Linked DNA regions of Homo sapiens: region 1 is linked to region 2. The links are contacts of gene promoters, found by promoter capture Hi-C in blood cells and fetal thymus (Javierre and others, 2016). All regions are on one chromosome and are shown on one strand. Each heading gives the region's core, a stretch centred on a gene start or on the middle of the fragment in contact. The rest is flanking DNA. Distances are from core to core; before and after follow the strand shown.

Region 1 (3,402 bases), core at 520-3,019, 490 kb before region 2:
GAAACAAACAGACAAAAACTATATATTTTAAAGGATGTTCTGTTGTTTGTAATAGCAAAAATAATGTATACAGTCAGGGATTCGTTGGAAATTTAAAAAGTGGAATACCACACAGTGTTGAAAAAAGAAGGAATTATACCTGCACTTTCTAATTCTGCGTGAGAATAATTAGATTATGGAACAGCATGAAAGAGGAGACCCTCCTGAGGCTCTTCTGCACACCTATGATCACGTGCTTATGTTCAGAAAAGTGCCCAACTGGGTGTTTGCCAAGATGTTATCAACGTTCTAATTTTTTGCCATTTTTTGCACTTCTCTATATTGCATTGAAGTTTATTTTTTACATCAAATATGTATCACTTTTATTTAAAACAACAATAAAAATGCTTTGCCCTCTTTAAAAAAAAAAAAAAAAAAAGAAAAAGCTTGTCTATCTGCCTTCCTTGAGCCAAGAGGCTTTTGAGGTACCTGAAGCACTGTGGGATAAGGAAGACACAGAAGAAAGGAGACTGGGTTATGTTTGCTTCTTAGTGAGTGGCCACTTTGCTTGTCCTTAGGACAATTCTTCAGCCATGAGCCCTCAGGTTGTCTCAGGAACAGCTGCTTGGCCTGAAGTGACCTATGACCAGCTGGGCAGGCAGCTGATGGGACACTGGAGTTGTGGCAGTTGAAATGTTTTGAAAATCAGAATGAGGCCTTTAGAATCAGCACCCAGCAGCTTATTGACCAGGCAGCCTTGGGGCATTGTCTCTCATCCCTAGCCTCGGTTCCCTTGTCCATAAAATGGAGTTAATGGAACATACATTATAGGGCCATTGTAGGGATCGGATAAAATAATGTACATTAAAGATAATAAATGTCAGTTCCCTACTCAAAGTTTTTCCATTGTGCTGTTAAAATTGGACTTTCATTTTATTGATGATTGGACCTTGGTTTGAGGGCAAATGTATTTGGAAATGTTTGTGGCAGGATGAATGTCTTCTATGCCTCCCAGTCTGTACCTACATACCTCGCCTTCAGCACACTTCAGGATTTCACTACTGCTGGGAGGTTTAGGATTTTATTATTCATTTCCAGAACTTGATTTCCATGTGCATTATCTTGTTTGATACATGAGAAACAACAGAATTTTACTGTAATTTCTATGAATAGAACATGATTAAACAGTTGTCAGAAAATCAGAACAAAAGAGAATGCTTTATACTCAAAAGGCTTGCAATCAGCAATAAAAGGTCAGAATGGTGTCTGTCATCTGAGATGGAGTGGGGTTTCCATTACCCCCTCTGGGTGACAGACTCTTGGTTACCAGCTTTTCATCTCTGGATTTCAGCACAATTAAACAGCAGACTCAGTCTGCTGCCCCAGGCTGAAACACAAGTTGAGCACATGTGGCTACTTCTAGTTTATTCAGAGCAGCAATTTGAATTTAAAAAAATAATTAAGATGAGTTAACCAGTCCTCCATGCTCTTTTTGGAGGGACAGTCTGTCCTGAGGTATGGTGGATACCTTCTCTCTAAAGTCAGTTTAACATAGGAACCCAGCAAAACGGAATTGCTCACCAGATTAGAGTTTCGGAAACAATGTTTACAACAAAAAATATTTTGTGGCAACTAGTATACCAAAGCAGTGAATTCAAAGAGCTGGGTTCCAGTTCAGGCACCAAGCATGTATGCCATGGAATCCAGGATTAAATCAGAACAAATAAACAGGCAGTTTTGTCTCAGATGACAACACGTATGCTTTTCATGGAATTAATGTTAAAAGATGGATATACAATAAACCCTGGACACATGCTTAGGCTGGGGCTTCGGAATTCAAAAACATAGGCAGAGCCATGCCATAACTTTCTTAAGTCAGAGTTCCCTGACCAGGCAGATTTCCCCTCTGTTGGAGTGGGTGTGTGAGAGTACAGGTTTGACGTCTTGAAAGTCACAAACATCCTCTGTATGAGAGGAGGGGAATGAAGAAGGGCCTGTGTCGGGTTGAACACAGTTAGGTAGTGATGACGCTGATGAATCAATAGCCACCAAATTGTCCAGCATTGAGGTCAAATGCTTCATGAATTTGGTCATTGGTAACCATGGCATTAGTAGCATGGCCCATTGTGAGTGTGACTCTGTGTGTGTGTGTGACTGTGTGTGTGTGTGCTTGCATGTATACACATTCAGTGGAATGAGAACAGAAATAAGACATTTTGAACAATTACCCAATTAGCTGTCCTACAATTACGGGAATGTGACATTCAGTTAAAAATGCAAGGATCATTTTATGTTAAATTGCTCATTTTGAAAGCATCCTCTTGGCTCAGTCGCCATGCCAACTGGTTCGTAAAGTGGTGCCCATTGCTTTTGAGAGGCAGGACAAGATAGTATCCTTCATACCATGCCTGAGCCAGCTTTCTTATTTAGCAGAGTTGAAAGCAGGGAGGGAAAGGGTTGTGGTTGGGAGCTGGGGGCTCAGCCAGATTCCCCTTTCAGTGATTTCTCAGGCATGAGGATGACCTGCCTTGGCCACTGCATCTGAGGAAATATTGCAGGGGAGAGGCAGGGCAGGGCTGGGAGACTGCCTGAGCAGGGATGTCATTGTACAGTCAGTTAGAGGTCTCTTTTTAAAGCAGGGTGATGTATGGCAAAAAATGAAAGACAAGTGAATAGGAGCAAAATGGCAGGTTCCAGAGAGTCAGCAGCATCACTGATTGGGGTCCAGCTGGACGCTCACCAATAATTCCTCCTGGCATCCAGAAAGCCACGATGGGGGCAGAACCTAAAAATCCTTCTTCCTCTTCTTTGTTTTCAAGTGCCTCTTCTCATGGTCTGACCTGCTCAGCCACCCAGAGCCCATCTCTAGGGCATACAAGAACCTCAGTTTTCTTTGGCATCATTCCCTGCTGGCCTCATGCGCACCCACTGCCCACCCATAAAGAGAACACAAGCCTGAATACAGTGGAGCCCACTATTCCCACATGTATCATTTTCACATTCTGGAGCTCAGAAAGAAGCAGCTGAGTAGAATCAGGATTTCAAAGGACACCAGGCCTCTGCTTCTGACTTGGGTGGCAGCTCAGATCCTAGAGCCTGGAGAGGGCTCTGCATCCAGTGAATGCTTAACAAACAAAAGCTTATCTGACATGGAATTCCTGAGAAAGCCCCATTAGCCAATGCTCTTCTCTCCTGCACTATGAAATGTAGTGCTCATAACAGTCCTATTGTAGGACATTAACCAGCACTTGCTTAAAGCAAGGGGGGCTTTCCAATCTGTGTTTATTGCAGGCTCTGCTGCTCCACAGCTGGGAAATGTGGACAGGTTCCTTGGGTGTTCTGAGCATCAGAGAGCCTTGTCTGTAAAATGGGGATAAAAATGCTACCTACCCCACTGAGTTATTGTGAGGACTAAATGAGCAA
Region 2 (3,132 bases), core at 414-2,913:
ACATTTACTAGATTTTTGACCCTGAACAAGGAAGTTACCTAACTTCCCTGAGCCTCTATTTCATCATGTGTGAAATGAGAATAATAGCGCACATGTTGATTTGTGGGCTAAAGGAGACCTGAAGGTAAAGAGCCCCACATGGGTCTGAGCCCCATGCAGCCACCATGATTCACTGCTGTCCCCAAGCACATCCTGGTGCCTGAAATCCTGAAGAGTTGGCTTTCACCACTGCAGAGGCTCTGAGTGAGCTGCCAGGGCAGCAGAGGGAGGCTGAGCTGCAGGAGTGCTGTTAATGGATTTTATGGCTTTGTTGAGTACCTCAAACTACAGTTATTAATTAGAGGATGCTGTTTAGGCACTCTTGCAATATATACATTTTGTTAATTGATTTGTATAGGCTCATAGCTAGCAACATAAAGAATGTGCAGGACCATAACACTTACAAGGGATTGTAATTGCCTTTGCTGCCCTCTCTGGCTCCCCAAGCAGGGAACAAAAGCTTTGAGGATAGGACCCACTCTCTCCTCTGTCTTTGGATCTCCAACGACTAATCCAGTGCTCACTGTCAGGGTGATACAGCCTGTCTAGATGCTCAGCAAACGTCTTGAATCAATGACTAAATAAATAATATTGTTTGTTTCTGTATTTCCATATCTACTTTATTTCCAAACTATTCCTCATAAACCCTGCATTGTGTGTGATGTTGGCATTTCATTTAGGTAAATATGGTCAAGGATTTATTCTGAGTCCTTACTGTTTTTTTTTTTTTTTTTTTTGAGTACCTTTGTAATTTTTTCACGGCCTAGAGATGGTTGAGGATGCAAAGATATGCACTGGCTCCTGCACTCAGGGAACTGACAATACTCAACGGCACGAGATTTTACAATGCATGACGTCAAGTAGCCTGTTCTTAGAGATGCGGAGTGACAACATAAAGGTGGCAACTTCTTGCATGGCACCATACCGCAGGGAATTTTAAGTTTGACACCCCGCCCCCGCCACTGCAGCCTCAGCAGGCCCAGCACCCCAAGTTTTCTGATCTAGCTGTTCTATCAGCCTCTAAGAGCCGCGGCTGCCCCTGCTTCTCGGAGATGACGCGGAGCCCTGCCATTGCCATCCAGGTCCAAGGCTATCTACTCTGCCCGACAACCCCTAGCACCACTAGGCGCTGCTCTAGTGTGCGCCTGGCGCCCTCCCCAGACCAGTCGACGCAGAACGCCCAGAGACCCAGCCAAGGGCAAGACCCTTAGCGACGCCCGTCAGTCCTCTCCGCCCAGATATCAGTTCAAAGGGCATGGCAGGTCAGGGTCCCTCGCGCCACCCCAGATGACCCTCAGGCCTCGGGTGGCCACTTTCTGGGGGAGCCCTCCATCCCTTGCGGCAGCTTTTCCGAGAGTCGGAGTGGAGGCGCGGGGCTGGAGGGCTCTCCGGAGCCGCCCACCAGGGTCCTCTGGGGGCCCGGTCCCGACTGGGCAGGGGGACCTGGACAGGGCCCCGGAGCGTGGAGACGGCTGAGGAAAGTTGGGGGTCGGGGCCTTGGGGCGGGGAGCGCGGAACCCGGCGCCGATGCCCGCGTTCATGAATATGCACGAGCCACCTCCCTCCCTCCGTGACGTCACGGGCCGTCCCGGGGTGAGCGCCTGAGCCGCTCCGGGTCCGCGCCAGTGAGCGCGGCTGCTGCCGGCGAGCTAGCGGCGCAGCGGCGGGAACCCGAGGCCGAGCGCCGCGGCGGCAGCGCTAGAAGCGCACCCATCGGGCACGGCGAGGCGGCCCACGGTGCGGCAGGCACCGGGAGGCGAGAGCCGGCGCGGACAGTAGGCGGCGGCTGCAGCTCGTTGGCGGCTGCTGCGAGGATGCTGCCTGGGCGGCTGTGCTGGGTGCCGCTCCTGCTGGCGCTGGGCGTGGGGAGCGGCAGCGGCGGTGGCGGGGACAGCCGGCAGCGCCGCCTCCTCGCGGCTAAAGGTGGGTGCTGGGGAAGTTTGCTCTTCTCCCAGGAGGGAGGCAGGGCAGGCTTGAGGGTGAAAGCGGCAAGGACCTAGGCTCAAGCTGGATTTGCCCACCCTCCCTTGCCGCAGCTTCTTTGGCCTCTGTGCGCCCTGGATTCCCGAAGTCAGTTCCCTGCGCAGCGGACCAGAGAGGTCCACCCGCGGACGTCAACTCAACCCCTGGGCGGGGTCCGGGGGCTGAGCAGAAGGCGAGGTCTGGGGAGTACGGACAACTTTGAGGGCTGTCTGTGCCGGGGTGGGAGCGCAGTGGGTGAGTTTCGAGCTCTGGCCCAGGGACGGCTAGAGCAGGGCGCTGGCGCGCCGTGGGGACAAGCAGGTGTCTGCTCCTGCCTGGGGGAAGGATCAGCGGCGGTGCTTTCAAGGAGGGAGCCGAGCTGTGACTTGTCTCCCAGCTCGGGGATGGAGTGGAAACTTGTAGGCTCCAGGGAAGGCCCCGCTGACACTCCTCAAGCTCCCCCAGGGCGTCTCTGACTCCCCGGGGAACGTGTACCCTCCGGGTAGGCGGCGGGGTCCGGAAGAAGCGCGGGATGTGAGGCTCCCCGCTGCCTTTCCTACTCCGCTCTGACTACCGAGGACCGAGGAGCCTAACCTGGCACCACTCCCCTGCCCACCCTGTTCCTTTGAAGAGCTTGACCTCCCCGCGCCTCCCGCCCGGAAGGAAGCTAGATCCAAGCGAACGCCTGGCTCTGTCAGGCGAGCCTGGAAGCCGGCGAACCCCGGACTTTGACAGCTGCCTGGGAGCGTCGGGAGCTCTGGGGTGGGGGGCCGGGTCTGAAACAGGAGGTCACGTGCTTGCAGGGGGTGGGGAGGCGAGGGAAGAGCAGAGCTGGTGGGGAACAGTGGTGGGCTCAGGGGAGGCTGTGGCAGATCCTAGCTGGGGCGCACAGCTTAGTGATAACTTGTTGATTCTCTGCGCTGTTCATAAGTAGGGCTTGCGTTTGGTTTGTGGACTGTGGCCAAATCCGCCAGGTGACAATGAGGGGTACTTGGTCCCCAAATCCTGCCTGGCAATCATCAGAGGGCGGAGGGGTTTGCGCCTGTCAGAAAATAGATTCCCTGTTAGAGACAGCCTGATTCGGACGCTTGCTTTGAGCTACACTTGACCACTAGCTTAGGGGAGGAAATG

Evidence for each region. Contacts are between HindIII fragments. The CHiCAGO score rates a contact against its expected background, and 5 or more counts as called.
Region 1: a fragment that was not itself captured here is called in contact with the fragment with the promoter of CLSTN2 in region 2 in 2 of 17 cell types (erythroblasts and megakaryocytes); the score reaches 5.9 in erythroblasts.

The regions. Positions count from the first base shown.
Region 1 is chr3:139,438,853-139,442,254 of GRCh38, forward strand. The region is part of intron 3 of COPB2-DT (COPB2 divergent transcript); the gene reads left to right. Among named protein-coding and RNA genes, the nearest start is that of RBP2, 36 kb to the right of the region's middle. The HindIII fragment of the contact is 2,693 bases long and covers 424-3,116 here.
Region 2 is chr3:139,933,522-139,936,653 of GRCh38, forward strand. It overlaps CLSTN2 (calsyntenin 2), which reads left to right and starts at 1,664. Exons shown (of 17, transcript NM_022131.3): 1 at 1,664-1,962. The coding sequence starts at 1,854. RefSeq lists silencers at 1,662-1,711, 1,752-1,811. The HindIII fragment of the contact is 3,275 bases long and covers 498-3,132 here.